2 separate regions of the Homo sapiens genome follow, and region 2 is linked to region 1. Evidence: promoter capture Hi-C in 16 types of primary human blood cells and fetal thymus (Javierre and others, 2016). All regions are on one chromosome and are shown on one strand. The core of a region is centred on a gene start or on the middle of the fragment in contact, and the rest is flanking DNA. Distances in the headings are between cores, read along the strand shown. Region 1 holds the start of LINC02108 (long intergenic non-protein coding RNA 2108). Region 2 overlaps GAPT (GRB2 binding adaptor protein, transmembrane).

The links. The method cuts DNA at HindIII sites, captures the fragments that hold promoters and counts their contacts. A CHiCAGO score of 5 or more calls a contact.
Region 2: a fragment that was not itself captured here is called in contact with the fragment with the promoter of LINC02108 in region 1 in 1 of 17 cell types (M2 macrophages); the score reaches 5.9 in M2 macrophages.

What each region holds. Positions count from the first base shown.
Region 1 is chr5:58,555,487-58,562,690 of GRCh38, reverse strand. LINC02108 (long intergenic non-protein coding RNA 2108) reads left to right here and starts at 4,448. Exons shown (of 4, transcript NR_109904.1): 1 at 4,448-4,505. RefSeq lists an enhancer at 1-261. The HindIII fragment of the contact is 10,011 bases long and covers 1-6,165 here.
Region 2 is chr5:58,495,410-58,502,613 of GRCh38, reverse strand. GAPT (GRB2 binding adaptor protein, transmembrane) reads right to left here. Exons shown (of 3, transcript NM_001304431.2): 3 at 5,524-7,204. Among named protein-coding and RNA genes, the nearest start is that of GAPT, 7.6 kb to the right of the region's middle. The HindIII fragment of the contact is 942 bases long and covers 2,632-3,573 here.

The DNA of each region.
Region 1 (7,204 bases), core at 3,199-5,698:
TCACCACTCCCTAATCTCAAGTACCCAGGGACACAAACACTGCGGAAGGCCGCAGGGACCTCTGCCTAGGAAAACCAGAGACCTTTGTTCTCGTGTTTATCTGCTGACCTTCTCTCCACTATTATCCTATGACCCTGCCACATCCCCCTCTCTGAGAAACACCCAAGAATGATCAATAAATACTAAAAAAAAAATAAAAAGAATTATTATTATAATCCCATTTTATAGGTGAGGAAACAAAGCTAAAGGTAAAGTGAATTGCCAAGGGTCACATGTCAACCAAATTGGAGACCAAAAACTGGAACCCGGTTTTTCAAAAGAAGCAATGGCTTACATGGGACATAATAGCCATTCAAGGAAATACAAGGTGATTCCCTGGGTCATCACTCCAGCACTTACACTGCTAGGAAAATTGAACAGTTAGACTTGGAGAAATAAATATCACCACTAAAAGGAAGTTACTCACGTAACCCTAAGCATTCAGCAAGGCCCTGAGTTTCTTTCTCCAGTTACATCAGCCTTCTATACAAATCCTAAATCTGGATATTGTTTTCATTGATGCTGGAATTACTCTGGGTTGATTAAATTCATCTGGATAAAAAAATATTGCTCATGTAGAATTTTCAAGCAGTGATACATTTTGTGACAAGATGGTCCTGCTAGACTGAAGTAGAACCTAGATTATTATCATTAATAAAATAATAAGAATAACTTATCATGTGGGAATTTGCTATTTACTAATCACTTTCATATTGATTAGGTCATTGATCTCCAGACAATCTTTCAAGTGGAGGATATGCTGTTTTCAATCTTATTTTGTACTTCTTTGGTCGAGGGTGGGCTAGTAAGACATTTGTAGGTGGATCCGTCCTGCAATGATTCATAAATTTATGTATAAAAAATTACAAAGGTCTTTCAGTATTATTGCATTAAGTTTTGAATCATACTGTTGTTCCTTATCAATTCCCTTGAAACTGATTATTAGAATCCTGGTGGCAAATTTTAGTAGCTTTCAGGTTCCAAAATAATATCTCCATATTTTAATTTTATGGTACCAGAGAGTCTGGAACTAAAGAAGAAAAATAATCATTAGGGTTAATATTTATTTATTACTTTGTTTTCAGAAGGGACTATACACCTTCTGGCAAAATGTTAGTGAGTTCCTAGAACAATTATGATGCTTGCTGTGGATAGACAGAGGACCAATTTCATATTAAGACAAAGCAATATAAAAAAAACAAAATGTTATTAAAGTCATAGACCATAAAAATTTACTACATAGTTACTATGAGTCAGCAGGTACTAAGAGCTGATTCTATGGCATCAAAAGACCTACATGCAATTTCAGCTACTCCATTTTTAGAGCAGAAATGTTGATTCACCATTTGGCTCCTGTAAACTTTTATGTTCCTACTTGTGATAGAGGGTCAGCCATAGCTTCAGGGCTATTTTTGAATGTATGCCACTATAAAAGGCCATACTAAAGGGACTGATGGTCAGAGGCACTAGGATGGAGCTGGGTGAGCTTGGACAAGTTGAAAATATTGAACTTCTGTAAGCCTCAGTGTCCTTGTCTGTAAAATATGAGTAATGCTAATAACTACTTCATAGGTATTACCATTATTTTTGCAGAATTGAATGAAGAAATGAATGTACGCGGAAATGCTTTTCAACCTGTAAAACAAATGCTAGCCAGATCGTGTTAGTATAGAAAGTGAGTGAATCTACAACTGAAAACATTGTGCTGTCTTTGGATCTTAATAAATTTTCATATTCACCAGTGAATTGTGGAGAAAAACAATCCTAAGGAAGGCCATATTCTAAGTCATGTTTTTAACCTGATTTTAAAACTACTGCCTTCTATTGTGAGGGATCTTCTTTTCACATTGGACATGTTGGGGTTGTTCCAGGGTATACGCCAGTATTTTTCCTGCCCTCTCTCTGCTACCTCCCTAGGCAATCTCATCTGCATCCTAGCTTCAATTTCCATTGATACAGTAATGCCTCTTAGATCCATATTTTGAACCTAGATCATCTCCTCTCCTTTAAACTGGCATAGCTAACTGCTGACTGGTGATCTCCAACAGTATGCCCGTAAGTACCTCAAACATAGTCTTCCTCTGCTCCACACTTAATCCTTCTTATTTCTCATCTTTGTGAATGGTCCCATCATCCACCTACTTATTTAGGTGAGAAATCATGTTTTGACAATGACTTTCAATCTCCATCATTCCTCAAATTCAATCAATCACCACGTATTGTTCACTCCACTGTCTAAATATCTCTCCAATGCAATTCTCTCCATTCCCACTGCTTTCACCCAAACTAGGTCACCATGATTAGTCATTTGAATTATTTCTTCTAGTTCCCAATCTTTATTTTCTCTCAATCAATTCTCCACATTGCATTCTGAATGATTTTCCCCAAATCTAAAAGTGATCAAGTGTTATCTATACTAAAAACCCTTAAGTGGCTTCTGTGTGCCCAGCAACTTGACATGACTCTCAAGACTTCATGATCTAGCTTCTGCTCATTTCCATAGTTTTTATCTCTCAGCACTCCACCTTCACTCTCTGTGCACCAGTTTTGCAGAAGTTTCTACCAGTCTTCCATTGTACCATGCTCCCTCTTACCTGTAGCCTTTAGCACAGGGTAGGTATTCTGCTAGAAATGCTTTATCACTGTACTGCCTGCAACACGCATGTGCACACACACACTTTACTTTCTTAATTCATACTCAGTTTTTCAACTCTCAAATTAAACTTCAGTCTTCCAGGAAACTTTTCTTACTCGTAACACTCTGAAGTCTAAGCTAGGTATCTGTACTTTTACCTTCATAAGGCTGTCTTGTAATCACTTAGCTTCTCCTGTAACATTTCCACTAAACCATACAATTGGTAGGAACAAGGCCTGAGTCTGTCTTGTGTATCCCTTGCTTCTCATATATTAAGTCAGGGTTCAACTAGAGTAACGGAACCAGTAAGAAATAGATGTTAAGTGATTTATTGCAAGAAATAGACCTAAGTGATTTTGGGGACTGGCTGGACAAGTCTGAAATCTGTAGGGCTGGATATCAGGAGGGACAGTTTGGAACTTGGGCATGAGTTGAACTGAAGTCTGCAGATATTGAACTCTAAGCCTCAGTGTCCTAGTCTGTAAAATAGGAATAATGCTAATAGCTACCTCATAGGGCTTGCTTTTCTTCTTCAGGGAAGCCTTAGCTTTGCTCTCAGGGCCTTTAAATGGACTGAATAAATCAAGCCCACTCAGATTATGTAGTATAATCTCCCTTACTTAAAATCAATTGATTGTGGACTTTAATAACACACAAAATGCCTTCATGGCAACACTTGGATTAACATTTGATTGAATAATTAGGGACTGTGGTCTAGCCAAGTTGACAAATAAAACTAATCATCACATCTTCATATTAAGTATAGAGTGGGCACTCAGTAATTATGAGTGAAATGAACAGACACCCAGACTATTTTGTTCAACAAGAGCATTTGCTGGGTACATCTGAAGTGTTCCACTTTGTACTACTTAATGCAGCACTATCATATTATTTATGTCTTTTACTTATCAAAGTTTGTGATTTTTTTTTCCTCTTGGTACATCTGAAAGAAAGAAAATTATGTGCCCCATGCTATTTATGACCCCTCAGATTTCCTTAGAAAGAATACATTCAGGCCAGGTGCAGTGGCTCACACCTGTAATCCCAACATTTCGGGAGGCTGAGTTGGGAGGATCACTTAAGCCCAGGAGTTTGAGGTTACAGTAAGCTATGATTGTGCCACTGCACTCCAGCCTGGATGACAGAAGACCTTTTCTCTTACAAAACCAAAAAAGAATCCTTATCAATTCATGTCATTAAATGTGACAAATGTTGAGCTTCCTGAGGTTGGGGCTGCATGTTAACATTTGTGTGCTTTCTCAGCCTTACCACAGTGTATGTGTGCAGTAATTGTTCAATGCAGCTCTGTTGTAAAAAACTAAACCTACTAAGATTTCTTTAAATGATCAATTTATAGCATTTCCTATTGCATTTATGAATACTTGCAATTGATCTTGGACTATTATAATAAATGCCTTAAAAGAAGTGAAAATATACATTTGGGAGTAAATGAAAGATTTTTTCTCCAGCATCAATGCAATATAAGATTACATGTTATAATTAATAAATGTGAAATAATGTTTAATGTAAACATTATATATGTGAACAATACTGTGAATACAATGTGATGCTTATCAAAATCAGCTAAAATAAATGTTTTTAAGATTACATATTATGTGACTTGATCAGAAGAAGGAGGAAGGAAGTTTAGCATATTTTATCAATTCTAAGATGTCATCAATTGATTACGAGATACATCATTATTTTATTTACCATTAAGAACAAAAGAAAAGGGGGGAGGAGCCAAGACGGCCGAATAGGAACAGCTCCGGTCTACAGCTCCCAGCGTGAGCCACGCAGAAGACGGATGATTTCTGCATTTCCATCTGAGGTACCGGGTTCATCTCACTAGGGAGTGTCAGACAGTGGGTGCAGGCCAGTGGGTGCGCGCACGGTGCGCGAGCCAAAGCAGGGCGAGGCATTGCCTCACCTGGGAAGCTCAAGGGGTCAGGGAGTTCCCTTTCCGAGTCAAAGAAAGGGGTAACGGACGCACCTGGAAAATCAGTTCACTCCCACCCGAATATTGCGCTTTTCAGACCGGCTTAAAAAACGGCGCACCACGAGACTATATCCCACACCTGGCTCGGAGTGTCCTACGCCCACAGAGTCTCCCTGATTGCTAGCACAGCAGTCTGAGATCGAACTGCAAGGCGGCAGCGAGGCTGTGGGAGGGGCGCCCGCCATTGCCCAGGCTTGCTTAGGTAAACAAAGCAGCTCGAACTGGGTGGAGCCCACCACAGCTCAAGGAGGCCTGCCTGCCACTGTAGGCTCCACCTCTGGGGGCAGGGCACAGACAAACAAAAAGACAGCAGTAACCTCTGCGACTTAAATGTCCCTGTCTGACAGCTTTGAAGGGAGCAGTGGTTCTCCCAGCACCCAGCTGGAGATCTGAGAACCGTCAGACTGCCTCCTCAAGTGGGTCCCTGACCCCTGACCCCTGAGCAGCCTAACTGGGAGGCACCCCCAGGAGGGGCACACTGACACCTCACACGGCAGGGTATTCCAACAGACCTGCAGCTGAGGGTCCTGTCTGTTAGAAGGAAAACTAACAAACAGAAAGGACATCCACACCGAAAACCCATCTGTACATCACCATCATCAAAGACCAAAAGTAGATAAAACCACAAAGATGGGGAAAAAACAGAACAGAAAAACTGGAAACTCTAAAACGCAGAGCGCCTCTTCTCCTCCAAAGGAACGCAGTTCCTCACCAGCAACGGAACAAAGCTGGATGGAGAATGACTTTGAAGAGCTGAGAGAAGAAGGCTTCAGACGATCAAATTACTCTGAGCTACGGGAGGACATTCAAACCAAAGGCAAAGAAGTTGAAAACTTTGAAAAAAATTTAGATGAATGTATAACTAGAATAACCAATACAGAGAAGTGCTTAAAGGAGCTGATGGAGCTGAAAACCAAGGCTCGAGAACTACGTGAAGAATGCAGAAGCCTCAGGAGCCGATGCGATCAACTGGAAGAAAGGGTATCAGCAATGGAAGATGAAATGAATGAAATGAAGCGAGAAGGGAAGGTTAGAGCAAAAACAATAAAAAGAAATGAGCAAAGCCTCCAAGAAAAATGGGACTATGTGAAAAGACCAAATCTACGTCTGATTGGTGTAACTGAAAGTGATGGGGAGAATGGAACCAAGTTGGAAAACACTCTGCAGGATATTATCCAGGAGAACTTCCCCAATCTAGCAAGGCAGGCCAACATTCAGATTCAGGAAATACAGAGAACACCACAAAGATACTCCTCGAGAAGAGCAACTCCAAGACACATAATTGTCAGATTCACCAAAGTTGAAATGAAGGAAAAAATGTTAAGGGCAGCTAGAGAGAAAGGTCGGGTTACCCTCAAAGGGAAGCCCATCAGACTAACAGCGGATCTCTCGGCAGAAACTCTACAAGCCAGAAGAGAGTGGGGGCCAATATTCAACATTCTTAAAGAAAAGAATTTTCAACCCAGAATTTCATATCCAGCCAAACTAAGCTTCATAAGTGAACGAGAAATAAAATACTTCACAGACAAGCAAATGCTGAGAGATTTTGTCACCACCAGGCCTGCCCTAAAAGAGCTCCTGAAGAAAGCGCTAAACATGGAAAGGAACAACCGGTACCGGCCACTGCAAAATCATGCCAAAATGTAAAGACCATCGAGACTAGGAAGAAACTGCATCAACTAACGAGCAAAATCACCAGCTAACATCACAATGACAGGATCAAATTCACACATAACAATATTAACTTTAAATGTAAATGGACTAAATGCTCCAATTAAAAGACACAGACTGGCAAATTGGATAAAGAGTCAAGACCCATCAGTGTGCTGTATTCAGGAAACCCATCTCACGTGCAGAGACACACATAGGCTCAAAATAAAAGGATGGAGGAAGATCTACCAAGCAAATGGAAAACAAAAAAAGGCAGGGGTTGCAATCCTAGTCTGATAAAACAGACTTTAAACCACCAAAGATCAAAAGAGACAAAGAAGGCCATTACATAATGGTAAGGGATCAATTCAACAAGAAGAGCTAACTATACTAAATATATATGCACCCAATACAGGAGCACCCAGATTCATAAAGCAAGTCCTGAGTGACCTACAAAGAGACTTAGACTCCCACACATTAATAATGGGAGACTTTAACACCCTACTGTCAACATTAGACAGATCAACGAGACAGAAAGTCAACAAGGATACCCAGGAATTGAACTCAGCTCTGCACCAAGTGGACCTAATAGACATCTACAGAACTCTCCACCCCAAATCAACAGAATATACATTTTTTTTCAGCACCACACCACACCTATTCCAAAATTGACCACATACTTGGAAGTAAAGCTCTCCTCAGCAAATGTAAAAGATCAGAAATTATAACAAACTGTCTCTCAGACCACAGTGCAATCAAACTAGAACTCAGGATTAAGAATCTCACTCAAAGCCGCTCAACTACATGGAAACTGAACAACCTGCTCCTGAATGACTACTGGGTACATAACGAAATGAAGGCAGAAATAAAGATGTTCTTTG
Region 2 (7,204 bases), core at 1,853-4,352, 59 kb after region 1:
TTCATTCAAGATATATTTGCAGTCTTCCTATTTTTTACTGATATCTTAGATATTCACTGATACTCAAAGTGAAAAAATTCCAAAATTCTTGGTCATTTTCTTTTTCATGACATATTCCATTGAACGTCAATTTTTAGCTTCTGTTTAATACAACTATCCTAAGAAGATTTAAAAACAAGCAGTAAATGAAAGTGTTGAATTCAATAAAATAAATGGCTTTACTAAGCCATGCACCTGTAGTTGTCAAACAAGTCCTCTAGCCTGCTGCCTAGCAGGCCCTGGACCCCTTCTTGCTGCTACATACACAGTGGTGCATTTTAGAGCTTCTCACTCAGAAGCCAGGGAAGAGGAAAAACACACTGTTTTCCAAATGTGACACCACCTGGCTTCAGGGACTGGGAATCGCAGTCACACACTGTTTGTTTGAGTCAGGTATTGATGTTGAAGATGCCACTACTCAGGACAGCAGTCCCCTCTTGCCTGTGGTTTCACGTTCCTAAGTTTCAGTTTTCAGTGGTCAACAATGATCCATATGTATTAAATGGAAATTTTCAAATAAACAATTCAATAAGTTCTCAATTGTGTGCTGTGCTAAGTTGTGTGATGAAATCTTGCCTCATCTCACTTTGTCCTGCCTGGGATGTGAATCATTCCTGTGTCCAGCATCTCCATGCCATAGATGCTTCCTTTCTCTTTGTCACTGAGTGACAGGCTTGGTTATCAGATTGACTGTCACATTTCACAGTGTTGGTGTTCAATTCATCCTTATTTTACTTTAAAATCACCTAATGCACAAGAAGAGTGATGCTGGCAATTCAGATATGGCAAAGAGAAGCTGTAAAGTGCTTCCTTTCAGTGAAAGGTAAAAGTTCTTGACTTAAGGAAGAAAAAAGTTGTATCCCGAGTTAGCTAAAGTTGATGGTAAAAATGAATTTCTATCCGTGAAGTTTTGAACAGAGTATTGGCGTAATTGTTCCATTTTATTATTGTTGTTAATTTCTTACTATGCCTAGTTTATAAATTAAACTTTATCATAGATACAAACATATAGAAAAAATATAGTGTATATACACATCCACTGGAGGTGCAGGAACATTTTCCCCATTAATAAGGGAGACTACCATACTTGGTATACTGATACCATGATATTTTGAGGTTGATGTTTATGACACTTGAACATTTTGAATGGTTAAATTTTTAAAATTATTATTAAGTAACCTATGCAATGGATATCCTCCCTTTATCTCTGAGTCTTCTATTCCATCACAGTTCCATCTCTATTTCTGAGTGACACTCCAATCTTGACCCCAATCCATTAGTTTGGCCCATGTTGGATTTCAGATATCTGAAGGACATCAGGTAAAAATAAGTAGTAGATGCTGAGCTATATGGTTAAATGCTTCAAAAAAATATTGGAGCAGAAGAGTTCAAATACAAATGTCTTGATCACCGAGGGAAAGAGGAATAGGAAAAGGAGCTGGGAACCAAGGAAAGATCATGAAGAACCACTCCACTGAAGGTTGTACAAGAGAAAAGCAAGCTTCAAAGGATGTTAAGTGGGGAAAAAGAGGGAGCAAGAGTACAATACCAGAAAGTGATCATGTAAGGTAAGCACTAAAAATTAAATATTAGACTTGTCACTCTCTGAATTTAAAGAAAAAGTTATTACGGCTTAGAATAGCAGTTTAACATGTGTCTGCTTGGGCTGCTATAACAAAAGACCATAGATTGGGTGCCTAAAACCATAGACATTTATTTATTACAGTTCTGGAGTCTGAGAAGTCCAAGGTCAAGGTGCTGGCTGATTTGTTTCTTGGTAAGAACCCACTTTCTGGCCTGCAGATGGCTGCTTTCATGTTGTGTCCTCACATGGTGCTGGGAGGTGGGGGCAGGGGGTGGTGGAAGGAAGGGAGGAAGAGAGAGAGAGAGAGAAGGAGAGAGAGAGAGAAAGAGAGAGAACTCTGTTCTCTTATAAGAGCACTAATTCCATCATGAGGGCTGCACCCTGATGACCTCATCTAAACCTAATTATTAATTCCTCTCAAAGCCCCACCTCCAAATACCATCACGTTGGGAAGTAAGGCTTCAACGTATGAATTTCAGAGAACACAAACCTCCAGCCTGTAACAATGTGGATACAGGCATCACCTCCCCTTTTTGATTTCTTTTAGCTCTCCTCCTTGGAGCCCAGTATCCCAATCTGCCCACAGGCCCTGGTCAAAGAAGTAACTGAGAGGTTGTAAAGCAAGGCTTTCAATGGGCTTATCAGGGATCCAATTGTTGTGGAGATCAATAATAGGGTGAGAAGTGAAGTATAAAGCAAATTGCAGTAAAATGTTTCATGTTGGAGGCTGAAAGCAAGGTCAAGACATCAGGTGCTCATTGTTGCTGGATGCTGGCCAGTCTTGAACTGGCTGTAAGTCATGGAATGTGAACACACCTAAGTGTGTCTGTAACAAAGTCATACTCAGTATATTCGATGCTACTGTCTCTTTTCCCCCACCCCCAACATCCTTCCTTTTAAATTGTTTACATGTGGTTCCTTTTTTAAATAGTGTAACCCAAACGAGAAACTGCTGCTTTCAACTGATGCAGACAGACTTTATCATCTTTATTTCCTGTGCACAAGCTTTACTTTTGAGATTTTGAGAAGGCAAAGAAATGCTGTAATAAAGAATGCAGATAAGAGATAGGAATTTGAAGGCAAGAGAAAGATAGAGTTAGAAAAAAGAGAAGAAAGAGGTGGAGGAAGCATATTGATGAAGGAGGAGAAATGAGAGAGGGAGGGAGAGAAGACAGGATAGGAGAGGGGGTGAAGAATGGAGGGTATGTATAGTAAAAAGAGAAACTTGAATGATGTATTTCTTTATTCCCCTCAGCAATTGATAAAGAACTTACAATTAATTTTAAAAGGAAGTCAAGGTAAGAATTAGGTAAAGAACCATTGACTAAATACTTCTTTTACTATCTTTTCTGGTCAAAGAGAGTAAACAAACGTCAAATATTCACTACATCTCTTGTTAAATGAAATTTATGCGAGTCCATTGATTAGATTAGTGAGCTTTTGCACTAGATTCCAACAGACCAAATGTAAATGGAGTCACTCAGGCCAAAGCTCCATCCCACCAAACTGAAACTTGTTTATCTGACTTTCTGAGACATCAGAAGAGAGATAATAGCCAAATCCCCAAACAGACCAGTTTTAGCCTGAATGATAAGGAAGTCCCCTGTGCTTCAGTAATTGCAAGAAAAGTAACCTAAAGTAACCTGATGTTAACCAATCCTCTTTTTTATATTATACTGTTTTATCGTCCTTGCTTAAGTTGCCTTATGAAAATGGACTCTTCTGCCAAGCCCAATGGAGTACCTGTTTAAACCTTCAAATGGGATGCTGCCAGATTTATGAATTGCTGATAAAACTAGCTCAATCTTTAAACTTAATCTATTGAAATTTCATCTTTTGACACTTTGGATAATCAATTATAATGGACAAATGTCAATACATCACATATTTTACAACACAAACCACCATTCTTAGAGATCATAGGACTTTACTTCTTTTACATTTAAGCTTTTACATTTACATTAGACTGGAGTGGCTGTAGCGCAGATAAACACATTGACAATGCTGCCCATTCTTCAAGAAAATGGCACAGGACTTACTGATGAACTCAGTGTGTGTGTTTGGTAGGGAAGGGGTAAGACTGGGAGTGTGGGAAAGAGAAGAGTATACAGGGATAATTGCAAAGTGCTTTACAGAGATGAGGAAGACTTACAGAAGGAACAGGTTTGGAGGCTGTATTAAGAATGAGTTGAGCTGTCAATGATAGAAAACTACACTCCATGGGCTTAGACACTGATAGTCCATTCATTTCACCTAACAAGGAACCTGCAGTTAGGCTTTTGATGGCTAATATCAGCTCAATGATGCCATATAGAGATCTCCTAACTGGCCACTCTTTCTCAGCCACCTATACCAGAGTCTCCTCATTAATTTATCCTCAAAATACTACAATTTCTGGAAAACTTCTAGATTCCTCCCTTTCCTCCTTTCTTGATTCCCGACTCTGTGCTCCCCCTGGTGTCTTCCCAGGAGATGGCATCCATTCTTATTCCTGTAAATACCACCTAAATGCTCATGACTGTCAAATTTACATCTCCAGCCAGGACCTCTCCTCTAAAATCCAAATGTGCACATACAACGGCAAACTGGATATTTCTACTTGGGTCTCAGGACATATTTCAGGAAATGTCAAAATAAATATGTTCAAAACTGAGTTTTGCCCTTGTCGCAAGAATTAGAGGTTGACTGAGTCACATTCTATTTTCAACTCCACTTTTCTTTTTCTGCCCACTCTATGAGGTTACCAAAGGTAAAAATTCAATTGTCCATGCACTCCTACACCAGATGGTGTCTGTGTGACACAATTCTGAGCAATGAGATAAGTAGATATCTCCTGGTTCTGCTCTTTCCCCTCATTTCTTCTTCATGGCTGAAGCATGAATAGAAGGCTTAAAGATTCAGCAGCTGTATGGTGGCCATGAGGCAATAGAGATGAAGATAAAAGTTGAAACACTAAGGGTGGCAGAGAGGAAATAGAGAAAGAGCCTGGGTCTTTCTATATGGTATCATTGAGCTGATGTTAGCCATCAAATGCCTAACTGTAGCCTCCTTGTTAGGTGAAATAAATGGAACTATCAGTGTCCAAGCCCCTGGAGTGTGGTTTTCTGTCATTAGCAGCCCAACTCATTCCTAACTGATGTGGCCTCCAAGCCTGTTTCTTCTTTAAGTCTTCCTCATCTCTGTAAAGTACTTTGCAATTATCCCTGTAGACTCTTCTCTTTCCCACACTCCAGTCTTGCCCCTCCCCTATCAAGCACACACACTGAGTCCATCAGTAAGTCCTGTGCCGTCTCCTTGAAGGACAGGCAGCATTGTCAATGTCTTTATCTGCACTGCAGCCACTCTAGTCTAACTTAAATGTAGAAGCTTCTTAGCTATCCTACCCACTTCCATTTTGGCCTCTTTCCAGTCACTTCTCAACCCAGTAAATCTTTTAAAAATGCTAGTGTCATCATCACGTCTCTGCTTAAAACCCTTTACTGATTCCCGTTGCACCTATAATAGAGTCAAAGCCACGTACTAAGACTTATGAGAAGCTCATGGTCTCCCATTCCCTCCTTCACCAACGCAGCAGGTGTCACTCCAACCCTTCCTCAGGAAACTCCAGCCACAATGGCTTCCTAGAGCACCATAAATTCTCTTAGGCCCCAGATTCTTTTCACGGGTGGGTCCCATTCTTACTCTCTGCCCATCACATTTATTATAGCTTCCTTCTGCCTTCAAGTCTCAGCTTAAATGGTCTCCAGTGAGGCCTCCTTTGACCACCCTATTAAAATTAAAACAGTCTCTCCTACCCAACCCCATTGGTTTCAAAAACAGAAAGAATTTTTTATAAAGCACCTACTACCATTTTGATATGTATCATCCCGGGTACACTTAGAAAACAGAAACCATATCAATTTGTTTTAACAGAGAGAATTTAATATAGATAATTGGCTAAACAGGCATTGGCAGGATGGAAAAACAAAAAAGGGGACACAGGTACCACAGAGATAGTAACTGTAACAATCTTGGCTGAGAGTTACCAGACCTCAGAGGAGGAGCCCTGCCAGGCTGGGACGCAGAACTCTGAGGGTACCACTTGTCTCCTGCACCACTTCAGGAGGTTGAAGGAGAGTCTGGCTGTCAGAGTCTAAGGGAGGGTGCCACCTGGCTGGTGCTGGTGCTTCTGACAGGTTGCAGAGAAGCTGGTCCTGGGAATGATGGAAGAAACTAGAAAGCTGCAAACAACCAGTGATGCTGGAGTAAACCACATGGCAATAAATTCCTGCGGGGGCAACAGAAAGAATAGGCAGGAGCAATTCCCTGTTGCCTCCTACTGCCTTTCGGTCTTCCTTAGTGCCCCCTATTGGTAGAGAATAGAATGGATCCACCTGGCAAAAGAAATGTTTGCAGAGGCCCAGGTCAAGCAATTCAGAGGAGCAAATAAAAGAGTGGATTTAGAGATGAGCTATCATAGCTTCATGAGCAGCATCGTATTCATTTGTTTACTATGTTTTCTTTCCTACTAGACTGTATGTGTTCAGGATCCATGTCTCTCTTTTTAATTTTGTAACCCCTCCACCAACCCATGTCCCTCAGGTGCACAGCACAATAGCAAGTAGATAGAAGACACAACAAATATTCCTTGTATGGATGAATAACAGATGAATTTATTAGATTTTTTTCTCAAAACTACTCAGCAAAATGTACAATTCAATTCCCGTCAGTAAAACATGAGGCATTTAGTGCCTTATGTGATGTTCTAGGCATTTGGGCAGTTTCTTTTCATTTAGGTGGGAATTTAAGACATTTTCATATGAAGCTAGGTAATAAAATGCTGTGGCAACATTCATATGTTTAAATGTCCTAAGAATTGAAGAGGCATCAAAGCTTATATCAGAAAATAAAAAGGTAAATGCGGGTTTGGAGTGATTCAGGAGATGTGTGGAAGAACTTATGATCTGAAGCAGGCTTGAGAGAAGAGGCAGAAAAGCAAAGCTGTGAAGGAAGGATAAGTTTGGCAGGTTTTAAGATGATTCTGCTGAAGGCAAAGAAATGAGAGATAGTAAGAGAAGTCACTGGAAAAGTGAATTGGAACCAATTGTGGAAAACCATAAATTTTGGAGTTCAAATTATGGGTATTATGTCTTTTGCAAAGAGGGGGCATTAAAACATTTTAAGTGAAAGAAATAATGTGGCTGTTAGGAATATTTTCTGAAGATAAATCTGGCAACACCATCGGTAATTGATTGAGTGGGTAGAAACTAGAAGCAGGAGGAACAGTTAGGAGCCTATGACAATAATTCTGAGCCAGATAAAGATAATGGTAGAAATAAAGGAAAGAGATAACGGGTAATATTTAGAAGGAAGAATCAATATCACATAATACAGATTTAGTCTGGTGCAAGGAGGGTGGAGAAGATATCTAGAATTAATCCACAGCGATACACATAGGATTCAGAAAGGTGGAGATAGGCAGAGACCATCCACTTATCAGAACTTGATTAAGAATGGCATCAGTACAATAAAAATCACAGTGAATTATTTTTAATATTTTAATTATAATTTTATGTTCAGGGGTACATGTTCAGGTTTGTT